Linked DNA regions of Homo sapiens: region 1 is linked to region 2. The links are contacts of gene promoters, found by promoter capture Hi-C in human tissues and cell types (Jung and others, 2019). All regions are on one chromosome and are shown on one strand. Each heading gives the region's core, a stretch centred on a gene start or on the middle of the fragment in contact. The rest is flanking DNA. Distances are from core to core; before and after follow the strand shown.

Evidence for each region. The method cuts DNA at HindIII sites, captures the fragments that hold promoters and counts their contacts. A contact is called where the count stands out against the background at its distance.
Region 1: a fragment that was not itself captured here is called in contact with the fragment with the promoter of FXN in region 2 in 1 of the 25 tissues and cell types used here (dorsolateral prefrontal cortex).

The regions. Positions count from the first base shown.
Region 1 is chr9:70,238,341-70,244,913 of GRCh38, forward strand. All of the region lies in intron 2 of SMC5-DT (SMC5 divergent transcript), which reads right to left. Among named protein-coding and RNA genes, the nearest start is that of SMC5-DT, 17 kb to the right of the region's middle. The HindIII fragment of the contact is 3,655 bases long and covers 1,092-4,746 here.
Region 2 is chr9:69,033,268-69,039,801 of GRCh38, forward strand. It overlaps FXN (frataxin), which reads left to right and starts at 2,485. Exons shown (of 5, transcript NM_000144.5): 1 at 2,485-2,680. The coding sequence starts at 2,516. RefSeq lists silencers at 2,374-2,843, 3,426-3,720 and an enhancer at 3,004-3,053. The HindIII fragment of the contact is 19,714 bases long and covers 1-6,534 here.

The DNA.
Region 1 (6,573 bases), core at 1,669-4,168, 1.2 Mb after region 2:
TTATACACCAATAACAGACAAACAGAGAGCCAAATCATGAGTGAACTCCCATTCACAATTGCTTCAAAGAGAATAAAATACCTAGGAATCCAACTTACAAGGGATGTGAAGGACCTCTTCAAGGAGAACTACAAACCACTGCTCAATGAAATAAAAGAGGACACAAACAATTGGAAAAACATTCCATGCTCATGGATAGGAAGAATCAATATTGTGGAAATGGTCATACTGCCCAAGGTAATTTATACATTCAATGCTATCCCCATCAAGCTACCAATTACTTTCTTCACAGAATTGGAAAAAACTATGTTAAATTTCATATGGAACCAAAAAAGAGCCCACATTGCCAAGACAATCCTAAGCCAAAAGAACAAAGCTGGAGGCATCACGCTACCTGACTCCAAACTATACTACAAGGCTACATTTACCAAAACAGCATGGTACTGGTACCAAAACAGATATGGACCAATGGAACAGAACAGAGCCCTCAGAAATAACACCACACATCTACAACTCTCTGATCTTTGACAAACCTGACAAAAAAAAGAAATGGGGAAAGAATTCCCTATTTAACAAATGGTGTCGGGAAAACTGGCTAGCCATATGTAGAAAGCTGAAACTGGATTCCTTCCTTATACCTTATACAAAAATTAATTCAACAGAGATTAAAGACTTAACTGTTAGACCTAAAACCATAAAAGCCCTAGAAGAAAACCTAGGCAATACCATTCAGGACATAGGCATGGGCAAGGACTTCATGTCGAAAACACCAAAAGCAATGGCAACAAAAGCCAAAATTGACAAATGGGATCTAATTAAACTAAAGAGCTTCTGCACAGCAAAAGAAACTACCATCAGAGTGAACAGGAACCTGCAGAATGGGAGAAAATTTTTGCAATCTACTCATCTGACAAAGGGCTAATATCCAGAATCTACAAAGAACTTAAACAAATTTACAAGAAAAAAAACTCCATCAAAAAGTGGGCAAAAGATATGAACGGACACTTCCCAAAAGAAGACATTTATGCAGCCAACAAACATATGAAAAAAAAAGCTCATCATCAGTGGTCATTAGAGAAATGCAAATCAAAACCATGAGAAGATACCATCTCACACCAGTCCGAATGGCGATCATTAAAAAGTCAGGAAGCAACAGATGCTGGAGAGGATGTGGAGAAATAGAAATGTTTTTACACTGTTGGTGGGAGTGTAAATTAGTTCAACCATTGTGGAAGACAGTGTGGCGATTCCTCAAGGATCTAGAACTGGAAATATTATTTGACCCAGCCATCGTATTATTGAGTATACACCCAAAGGATTATAAATCATTCTACTATAAAGACCATGCACACGTATGTTTATTGTGGCACTGTTCACAATAGCAAATACTTGGAACCAACCCAAATGCCCATCAATAATAGACTGGATAAAGAAAATGTGGCACATATACACCATGGAATACTATGCAGCCATAAAAAAGAATGAGTTCATGTCCTTTGGAGGGACATGGATGACACTGGAAACCATCATTCTCAGCAAACTAACACAAGAACCGAAAACCAAATGCTGCATGTTCTCACTCATAAGTGAGAGTTGATCAATGAGAACACATGGACACAGGGAAGGGAACATCACACACCGGGGCCTGTTTGAGGGTGGGGGCCTAGGGGAGGGACAGCATTAGGAGAAATACCTAATGTGGATGACAGGTTGATGAGTACAGCAAATGACCATGGCATGTGTATACCTATGTAACAAACCTGCACGTTCTCCACATGCACTAAAGAACTTGAAGTATAATTAAAAAAAAGAAGAAATCATGTATTTTATAGATATGCATATAAATGTATGACAATATGTGTATATATATACGTATCATGGTAAAGTACTATGTATCAAAATTTGTGAGGTGTGGCTAAATTAATACAGAGAGAATTTTATTACCTTAAAAAATTAACTTAAGAGGAGGGCGTTCCAAGATGGCCAAACAGGAACAGCTCTAGTCTGCAGCTCCCAGCATGATCAATGCAGAAGACGGGTGATTTCTGCATTTCCAACTGAGGTACCTGGTTCATCTCATTGGGACTGGTTGGACAGTGGGTGCAGCCCACAGAGGGCAAGCTGAAGCAGGGCGAGGCATTGCCTCACTCAGGAATTGCAAGGGGTTGGGGGATTTCCCTTTCCTAGCCAAGGGAAGCCGTGACAGACCACCTGGAAAAACGGGACACTGCCACCCAAATACTGCGCTTTTCCCAAGGTCTTAGCAACCGGCAGACAAGGAGATTCTCTCCTGTGCCTGGCTTAGCAGGTCCCACGCCCACAGAGCCTTGCTCACTGCTAGCGCAGCAGTCTGAGATCGAACTGCGAAGGGGGCAGCCTGGCTGGGGGAGGGGCATCCGCCATTGCTGAGGCTTGAGTAGGTATACAAAGTGGCTGGGAAGTTCGAACTGGGAGGAACCCACCGCAGCTCAACAAGGCCTACTGCTCTAGACTCCACCTTTGTGGGCAGGGCATAGCTGAATAAAAGGCAGCAGACAACTTCTGCAACTTAAACGTCCCTGTCTGACAGCTCTGAAGAGAACAGTGGTTCTCCCAGCACAGTGTCTGAGCTCTGAGAACAGACAGACAGCTTCCTCAAGTGGGTCCCTGACCCCCATGTAGCCTAACTGGGAAACACCTCCAGTAGGGTCCAACAGACACCTCATATAGGCAGTTGCCCCTCTGAGACAAAGCTTCCAAAGGAAGGATCAGATAGCAGTATTTGCTGTTCTGCAATACTTGCTGTTCTGCAGCCTCCACTGGTGATACCCAGGCAAACAGAGTCAGGAATGGACCTTCAGCAAACTCCAACAGACCTGCAGCTGAGGGACCTGACTGTTAGAAGAAAACTAACAAACAGAAAGGAATAGCATCAACATCAACAAAAAGGTAATCTACACCAAAATCCTATCTGTAGGTCACCAACATAAAAGACCAAAGGTAGCTAAAATCATAAAGATGGGGAGAAACCAGAGCAGAAAAGCTGAAAATTCTAAAAATCAGAGCACCTCTTCTCCTCCAAAGGATCATAGCTCCTCACCAGCAACGGAACAAAGCTGGATGGAGAATGACTTTGATGAGCTGACAGAAGTAGGCTTCAGAAGGTCGGTAATAACAAATTTCTTGGAGCTAAAGGAGGATGTTCGAACCCATCGCAAAGACGTTAAAAACCTTGAAAAGAGATTAGACGAATGGCTAACTAGAATAAACAGTGTAGAGAAGATCTTAAATGATCCGATGGAGATGAAAACCATGGCACGGGAACTTCACGACACATGCAGAAGCTTCAAGAGCTGATTCAATCAAGTGGAAGAAAGGGTATCAGTGATTGAAGATCAAATTAATGAAATAAAGCAAGAAGACAAGGTTAGAGAAAAAAGAGTAAAAGAAACAAACAAAGCCATCAAGAAATATGGAACTCTGTGAAAAGACCAAATCTACATTTGATTGGTGTACCTGAAAGTGGTGGGGAGAATGGAACCAAGCTGGAAAACGGTCTTCAGGATATTATCCAGGAGAACTTCCCCAACCTAGCAAGACAGGCCAACATTCAAATTCAGGAAATACAGAGAACACCACAAAGATACTCCTCAACAAGAGCAACTCCAAGACACATAACTGTCAGATTCTCCAAGGTTGAAATGAAGGAAAAAGTGTTAAGGGCAGCCAGAGGGAAAGGTCGAGTTACCCAAAAAGGGAAGCCCATCAAACAAACAGCGGATCTCTCGGCAGAAAACCTACAAGCTAGAAGAGAGTGGGGGCCAGTATTCAACATTCTTAAAGAATTTTCAACCCAGAATTTCATTTCCAGCCAAACTAAGCTTCGTAAGTGAAGGAGAAATAGAATCCTTTAAAGACAAGCAAATGCTCAGAGATTTTGTCACCACCAGGCCTGCCCTACAAGAGCTCCTGAAGGAAGCACTAAACATGGAAAGAAACTGGTACAAGCCACTGAAAAACCATGCCAAATTGTAAAGACCATTGATGCTATGACGAAACTGCATCAATTAACGGGCATAATAACCAGTAAACATCATAATGACAGGATCAAATTCACACGTAACAATATTAACCTTAAATGTAAATAGGCTGAATGCGCCAATTGAAAGACACAGACTGGCAAATTGGATAAACAGTCAAGACATCAGTGTGCTGTATTCAGGAGACCCATCTCACATGCAAAGACGCACATAGGTTCAAAATAAAGGGAGGGAGGAAAATTTACCAAGCAAATCGAAAGCAAAGAAAACCAGGGGTTGCAATCCTAGTCTCTGATAAAACAGACTTTAAACCAACAAAGATCAAAAGAAACAAAGAGCCCATTACATAATGGTAAAGGGATCAATTCAACAAGAAGAGCTAACTATCCTAAACATATATGCACCCAATACAGGAACAACCAGATTCATAAAGCAAGTCCTTAGAGACCTACGAAGAGACTTAGACTCTCACACAATAATAATGGGAGAATTTAACACCCCATTGTCAGTATTAGACAGATCGATGAGACAGAAGGTTAAAAAAGGGTATCCAGGACTTGAACCCAGCTCTGCAACAAGCAGACCTAATAGATACCTACAGAACCCTCCACCCCAAATCAACAGAATATACATTCTTCTCAGCACCACATCGCACTTATTCTAAAACTGACCACATAATTGCAAATACAGCACTCCTCAGCAAATGTAAAACAACAGAAATCACAACAAACTGTCTCTCAGACCACAGTGCAATGAAATTAGAACTTAGGGTTAAGAAACTCACTCAAAACTGCATAACTACATGGAAACTGAACAACTTGCTCCTAAATGACTACTGTGTAAATAATGAAATGAAGGCAGAAATAAAGATGTTCCTTAAAACCAATGAGAACAAAGACACAACGTACCATAATCTCTGGGACACATTTAAAGCAGTGTGTAGAGGGAAATTTATAGCACTAAATGCCCACAAGAGAAAGAAGGAAAGATCTAATATTGACACCCTAACATCACAATTAAAACAACTAGACAGGCAGGAGCAAACAAATTCAAAATCTAGCAGAAGGCAAGAAACAACTAAGATCAGAGCAGAACTGAAGGAGATAGAGACACAAAAAACCCTTCAAAAAATCAATGAATCCAGGAGCTGGTTTTTTGAAAAGATCAACAAGATTTATAGACCTCTAGCAAGACTAATAAAGAAGAAAAGACAGAAAAATCAAATAGACACAATAAAAAATGATAAAGGGGATATCACCACCGATCCCACAGAAATACAAACTACCATCAGAGAATACTATAAACACCTCTATGCAAATAAACTAGAAACTCAAGAAGAAATGGGTAAATTCCTGGACACATACACCCTCCCAAGACTAAACGAGGAAGAAGGGGAATCTCTGAATAGATAAATAACAGACTCTGAAATTGAGTCAATAATTAATAGCCTACCAATCAAAAAAAGTCCAGGACCAAACGGATTCACAGCCAAATTCTACCAGAGGTACAAAGAGGAGCTGGTACCATTCCTTCTGAAACTATTCCAATCAATAGAAAAAGAGGGAATCCTCCCTAACTCATTTTATGAGACCAACATCATCTTGATACCAAAGCTTGGCAGAGACGCAACAAAAAAAGAGAATTTTAGACCAATATCCCTGATGAACATCAATGCAAAAATCCTCAATAAAAAACTGGCAAACCGAATCCAGCAGCACATCAAAAAGCTTATCCACCACGATCAAGTCGGCTTCATCACTGGGATGCAAGGCTGGTTCAACATATGCAAATCAATAAATGTATTCCATCACATAAACAGAAGCAACAACAAAAACCACATGATTATCTCAATAGATGTAGAAAAGGCCTTCAATAAAATTCAACACCCCTTTATGCTAAAAACTCTCAATAAACTAGGTATTCATGTGACATACCTCAAAATAATAAGAACTATTTATTACAAACCCACAGCCAGTATCATACTGAATGGGCAAAAACTGGAAGCATTCCCTTTGAAATCCAGCACAAGCCAAGGATGCCCTCTCTCACCATTCCTATTCAACATAGTGTTGGAAGTTCTGGCCAGGGTAATCAGACAAGACAAAGAAATAAAGGGTATTCAATTAGGAAATAAGGGAGTCAAATTGTCCCTTTCTGCAGATGACATGATCATATATTTAGAAAACCCCACTGTCTCAGCCCAAAATCTCCTTAAGCTGATAAGCAACTTCAGCAAAGTCTCAGGATACAAAATCAATGTCCAAAAATCGCAAGCATTCCTATACACCATTTCACAAGCATTCCTATACACCATTAACAGACGGAGAGCCAAATCATGAGTGAACTCCCATTCACAATTGCTTCAAAGAGAATAAAATACCTAGGAATCCAACTTACAAGGGATGTGAAGGACCTCTTCAAGGAGAACTACAAACCACTGCTCAACAAAATAAAAGAGGACACAAACAAATGGAAGAATATTCCATGCTCATGGATAGGAAGAATCGATATTGTGAAAATGGCCATACTGCCCAAAGTAATATATAGATTCAAT
Region 2 (6,534 bases), core at 1,235-3,734:
GGAGCATTTGCTAGTGACCTTTCTATGCCAGAACTTGCTAAGCATGCTAGCTAATAATGATGTAGCACAGGGTGCGGTGGCTCACGCCTGTAATCTCAGCACTTTGGGCGGCCGAGGCGGGCGGATCACCTGAGGTCAGGAGTTCGAGACCAGCCTGGCCAACATGATGAAACCCCATCTCTACTAAAAATACAAAAATTAGCCAGGCGTGGTGGTGGGCACCTGCAATCCCAGCTACTCTGGAGGCTGAGACAGAATCTCTTGAACCCAGGAGGTGGAGATTGCAGTGAGCAGAGATGGCACCACTGCATTCCAGCCTGGGCAACAAAGCAAGACTCTGTCTCAAATAATAATAATAATAATAACTAATGATGCAGCTTTCTCTCTCTGAGTATATAATGCAGTTCTGATGATGTGAGGAAGGGCCTCACTGTTGGTGTGGCAGAGTCTGAGACCATGGCTGGCAATGAAAACACTACCCTTTGATGCCTATGGGCTCTCCCTTTATGGTTTCAAGGAGGGCTTCTCAATCTTGGCAGAATTTTGGACTGGATAGTTCTTTGTTGCACAGGTGGGGGGCTGTCCTGCACATCACAGGATGTTTCATCCCTGGCCTCTACCTACTAGATGCCAGTAGAACATACCCACCCCACAGCTGCCTGTTGTGACAATCAAAAGCATCTCCAGATACTTTGCAGGGGGAAAATGATTTCTCCAGGCCTGGCATATACATAACAGTATTTAAGCAGCTGCCTAGAATTAATTAAACACAGAAGGATGTCTCTCATCCAGAATGCCCTGGACCACCTCTTTGATAGGCAATCAGATCCCACCTCCTCCACCCTATTTTTGAAGGCCCTGTGCCAACACCACTTCTTCCATGAATACTTCCTTGATTCCCCCATCCCTAGCTCTATATAAATCTCCCACTCAACACTCACACCTGTTAGTTTACATTCCTCTTGACACTTGTCATTTAGCATCCTAAGTATGTAAACATGTCTCTCTTCACGATTCACAAAGTGGCTTTGGAAGAACTTTAGTACCTTCCCATCTTCTCTGCCATGGAAAGTGTACACAACTGACATTTTCTTTTTTTTTAAGACAGTATCTTGCTATGATGGCCGGGCTGGAATGCTGTGGCTATTCACAGGCACAATCATAGCTCACTGCAGCCTTGAGCTCCCAGGCTCAAGTGATCCTCCCGCCTCAGCCTCCTGAGTAGCTGAGATCACAGGCATGCACTACCACACTCGGCTCACATTTGACATCCTCTAAAGCATATATAAAATGTGAAGAAAACTTTCACAATTTGCATCCCTTTGTAATATGTAACAGAAATAAAATTCTCTTTTAAAATCTATCAACAATAGGCAAGGCACGGTGGCTCACGCCTGTCGTCTCAGCACTTTGTGAGGCCCAGGCGGGCAGATCGTTTGAGCCTAGAAGTTCAAGACCACCCTGGGCAACATAGCGAAACCCCCTTTCTACAAAAAATACAAAAACTAGCTGGGTGTGGTGGTGCACACCTGTAGTCCCAGCTACTTGGAAGGCTGAAATGGGAAGACTGCTTGAGCCCGGGAGGGAGAAGTTGCAGTAAGCCAGGACCACACCACTGCACTCCAGCCTGGGCAACAGAGTGAGACTCTGTCTCAAACAAACAAATAAATGAGGCGGGTGGATCACGAGGTCAGTAGATCGAGACCATCCTGGCTAACACGGTGAAACCCGTCTCTACTAAAAAAAAAAAAAAATACAAAAAATTAGCCAGGCATGGTGGCGGGCGCCTGTAGTCCCAGTTACTCGGGAGGCTGAGGCAGGAGAATGGCGTGAAACCGGGAGGCAGAGCTTGCAGTGAGCCGAGATCGCACCACTGCCCTCCAGCCTGGGCGACAGAGCGAGACTCCGTCTCAATCAATCAATCAATCAATAAAATCTATTAACAATATTTATTGTGCACTTAACAGGAACATGCCCTGTCCAAAAAAAACTTTACAGGGCTTAACTCATTTTATCCTTACCACAATCCTATGAAGTAGGAACTTTTATAAAACGCATTTTATAAACAAGGCACAGAGAGGTTAATTAACTTGCCCTCTGGTCACACAGCTAGGAAGTGGGCAGAGTACAGATTTACACAAGGCATCCGTCTCCTGGCCCCACATACCCAACTGCTGTAAACCCATACCGGCGGCCAAGCAGCCTCAATTTGTGCATGCACCCACTTCCCAGCAAGACAGCAGCTCCCAAGTTCCTCCTGTTTAGAATTTTAGAAGCGGCGGGCCACCAGGCTGCAGTCTCCCTTGGGTCAGGGGTCCTGGTTGCACTCCGTGCTTTGCACAAAGCAGGCTCTCCATTTTTGTTAAATGCACGAATAGTGCTAAGCTGGGAAGTTCTTCCTGAGGTCTAACCTCTAGCTGCTCCCCCACAGAAGAGTGCCTGCGGCCAGTGGCCACCAGGGGTCGCCGCAGCACCCAGCGCTGGAGGGCGGAGCGGGCGGCAGACCCGGAGCAGCATGTGGACTCTCGGGCGCCGCGCAGTAGCCGGCCTCCTGGCGTCACCCAGCCCAGCCCAGGCCCAGACCCTCACCCGGGTCCCGCGGCCGGCAGAGTTGGCCCCACTCTGCGGCCGCCGTGGCCTGCGCACCGACATCGATGCGACCTGCACGCCCCGCCGCGCAGTAAGTATCCGCGCCGGGAACAGCCGCGGGCCGCACGCCGCGGGCCGCACGCCGCACGCCTGCGCAGGGAGGCGCCGCGCACGCCGGGGTCGCTCCGGGTACGCGCGCTGGACTAGCTCACCCCGCTCCTTCTCAGGGCGGCCCGGCGGAAGCGGCCTTGCAACTCCCTTCTCTGGTTCTCCCGGTTGCATTTACACTGGCTTCTGCTTTCCGAAGGAAAAGGGGACATTTTGTCCTGCGGTGCGACTGCGGGTCAAGGCACGGGCGAAGGCAGGGCAGGCTGGTGGAGGGGACCGGTTCCGAGGGGTGTGCGGCTGTCTCCATGCTTGTCACTTCTCTGCGATAACTTGTTTCAGTAATATTAATAGATGGTATCTGCTAGTATATACATACACATAATGTGTGTGTCTGTGTGTATCTGTATATAGCGTGTGTGTTGTGTGTGTGTGTTTGCGCGCACGGGCGCGCGCACACCTAATATTTTCAAGGCTGGATTTTTTTGAACGAAATGCTTTCCTGGAACGAGGTGAAACTTTCAGAGCTGCAGAATAGCTAGAGCAGCAGGGGCCCTGGCTTTTGGAAACTGACCCGACCTTTATTCCAGATTCTGCCCCACTCCGCAGAGCTGTGTGACCTTGGGGGATTCCCCTAACCTCTCTGAGACGTGGCTTTGTTTTCTGTAGGGAGAAGATAAAGGTGACGCCCATTTTGCGGACCTGGTGTGAGGATTAAATGGGAATAACATAGATAAAGTCTTCAGAACTTCAAATTAGTTCCCCTTTCTTCCTTTGGGGGGTACAAAGAAATATCTGACCCAGTTACGCCACGGCTTGAAAGGAGGAAACCCAAAGAATGGCTGTGGGGATGAGGAAGATTCCTCAAGGGGAGGACATGGTATTTAATGAGGGTCTTGAAGATGCCAAGGAAGTGGTAGAGGGTGTTTCACGAGGAGGGAACCGTCTGGGCAAAGGCCAGGAAGGCGGAAGGGGATCCCTTCAGAGTGGCTGGTACGCCGCATGTATTAGGGGAGATGAAAGAGGCAGGCCACGTCCAAGCCATATTTGTGTTGCTCTCCGGAGTTTGTACTTTAGGCTTGAACTTCCCACACGTGTTATTTGGCCCACATTGTGTTTGAAGAAACTTTGGGATTGGTTGCCAGTGCTTAAAAGTTAGGACTTAGAAAATGGATTTCCTGGCAGGACGCGGTGGCTCATGCCCATAATCTCAGCACTTTGGGAGGCCTAGGAAGGTGGATCACCTGAGGTCCGGAGTTCAAGACTAACCTGGCCAACATGGTGAAACCCAGTATCTACTAAAAAATACAAAAAAAAAAAAAAAAGAAGAAGAAGAAGAAGAAAATAAAGAAAAGTTAGCCGGGCGTGGTGTCGCGCGCCTGTAATCCCAGCTACTCCAGAGGCTGCGGCAGGAGAATCGCTTGAGCCCGGGAGGCAGAGGTTGCATTAAGCCAAGATCGCCCAATGCACTCCGGCCTGGGCGACAGAGCAAGACTCCGTCTCAAAAAATAATAATAATAAATAAAAATAAAAAATAAAATGGATTTCCCAGCATCTCTGGAAAAATAGGCAAGTGTGGCCATGATGGTCCTTAGATCTCCTCTAGGAAAGCAGACATTTATTACTTGGCTTCTGTGCACTATCTGAGCTGCCACGTATTGGGCTTCCACCCCTGCCTGTGTGGACAGCATGGGTTGTCAGCAGAGTTGTGTTTTGTTTTGTTTTTTTGAGACAGAGTTTCCCTCTTGTTGCCCAGGCTGGAGTGCAGTGGCTCAGTCTCAGCTCACTGCAACCTCTGCCTCCTGGGTTCAAGTGATTCTCCTGCCTCAGCCTCCCGAGTAGCTGGGATTATCGGCTAATTTTGTATTTTTAGTAGAGACAGATTTCTCCATGTTGGTCAGGCTGGTCTCGAACTCCCAACCTCAGGTGATCCGCCCACCTCGCCCTCCCAAAGTGCTGGAATTACAGGCGTGAGCCACCGCGTCTGGCCATCAGCAGAGTTTTTAATTTAGGAGAATGACAAGAGGTGGTACAGTTTTTTAGATGGTACCTGGTGGCTGTTAAGGGCTATTGACTGACAAACACACCCAACTTGGCGCTGCCGCCCAGGAGGTGGACACTGGGTTTCTGGATAGATGGTTAGCAACCTCTGTCACCAGCTGGGCCTCTTTTTTTCTATACTGAATTAATCACATTTGTTTAACCTGTCTGTTCCATAGTTCCCTTGCACATCTTGGGTATTTGAGGAGTTGGGTGGGTGGCAGTGGCAACTGGGGCCACCATCCTGTTTAATTATTTTAAAGCCCTGACTGTCCTGGATTGACCCTAAGCTCCCCCTGGTCTCCAAAATTCATCAGAAACTGAGTTCACTTGAAGGCCTCTTCCCCACCCTTTTCTCCACCCCTTGCATCTACTTCTAAAGCAGCTGTTCAACAGAAACAGAATGGGAGCCACACACATAATTCTACATTTTCTAGTTAAAAAGAAAAAAAAATCATTTTCAACAATATATTTATTCAACCTAGTACATACAAAATATTATCATTCCAACATGTAATCAGTATTTTAAAAATCAGTAATGAGACCAGGCACGGTGGCTCACGACTGTAATCCCAGGACTTTGGGAGGCCGAGGCGAGTGGATCATCTGAGATCAGGAGTTCAAGACCAGCCTGGCCAACATGGTGAAACCCCATCTCTACTAAAAACTAGCTCAGCATGGTGGTGGGTGCCTGTAGTCCCAGCTACTCGGGAGGCTGAGGCATGAGAATCACTTGAGCCCAGGAGGCAGAGGTTGCAGTGAGCCAAGATTTTGGGGGATTCTGTGACATACAAAAAAAATCAGTAATAAGATATCTTGCATACTCTTTTCGTACTCATATACTTCCAGCATATCTCAATTCACAATTTCTAAGTAAATGCTCTATCTGTATTTACTTTTATAAAATTCACAATTAAAAATGAAGGTTCACATAGTCAAGTTGTTCCAAACACACTTAAATGTCTCCTAGGCTGGGTGTGGTTGCTCACACCTGTAATCCCAGCACTTTGGGAGGCTGAGATGGGCGGATCACCTGAGGTCAGGAGTTTGAGACCAGCCTGGCCAACATGGTGAAACCCCGTCTCTACTAAAAATACAAAAATTAGCTGGATGTGGTGGCACTCACCTGTAATCCCAGCTACTCAGGAGGCTGAGGCAGGATAATTGCTTGAACCCGGGAGGTGGTGGAGGTTGCAGTGAGCCGAGATCGCACCACTGCCTTCCAACCTGGGCGACAGAGCGAGACTCCGTCTCAAAAAAAAAAAAAAGGCTCCTAATAACTTTATTACTTTATTATCACCTCAAATAATTAAAATTAAATGAAGTTGAAAATCCAGGTCCTCAGTCCCATTAGCCACATTTCTAGTGCTCAGTAGCCACGGGGGCTGGTGACCACCACATGGGACAGCATATTTAGTACCTGATCATTGGTTCTCAGATCTGGCTACTCAGCAGAACCAAGAATCCACAGAAACGGCTTTTAAAAGCACAGCCCCACAGCCCCCAGCCCCAGCCTTACCTACCTGGAGGCTGGGAAGGACTCTGATTCCACGAGGCAGCCTATGTTTTTTGATGGAGGGATGTGACAGGGGCTGCATCTTTAACGTTTCCTCTTAAATACTGGAGACAGCTTCGAGGAGGAGATAACTGGATGTGTCTTAGTCCATTTGATGGAGGGATGTGACGGGGCTGCGTCTTTAACGTTTCCTCTTAAATACCGGAGACAGCTTCGAGAAGGAGATAACTGGATGTTTCTTAGTCCATTTTCTGTTGCTTGTGACAGAATACCTGAAACTGGGC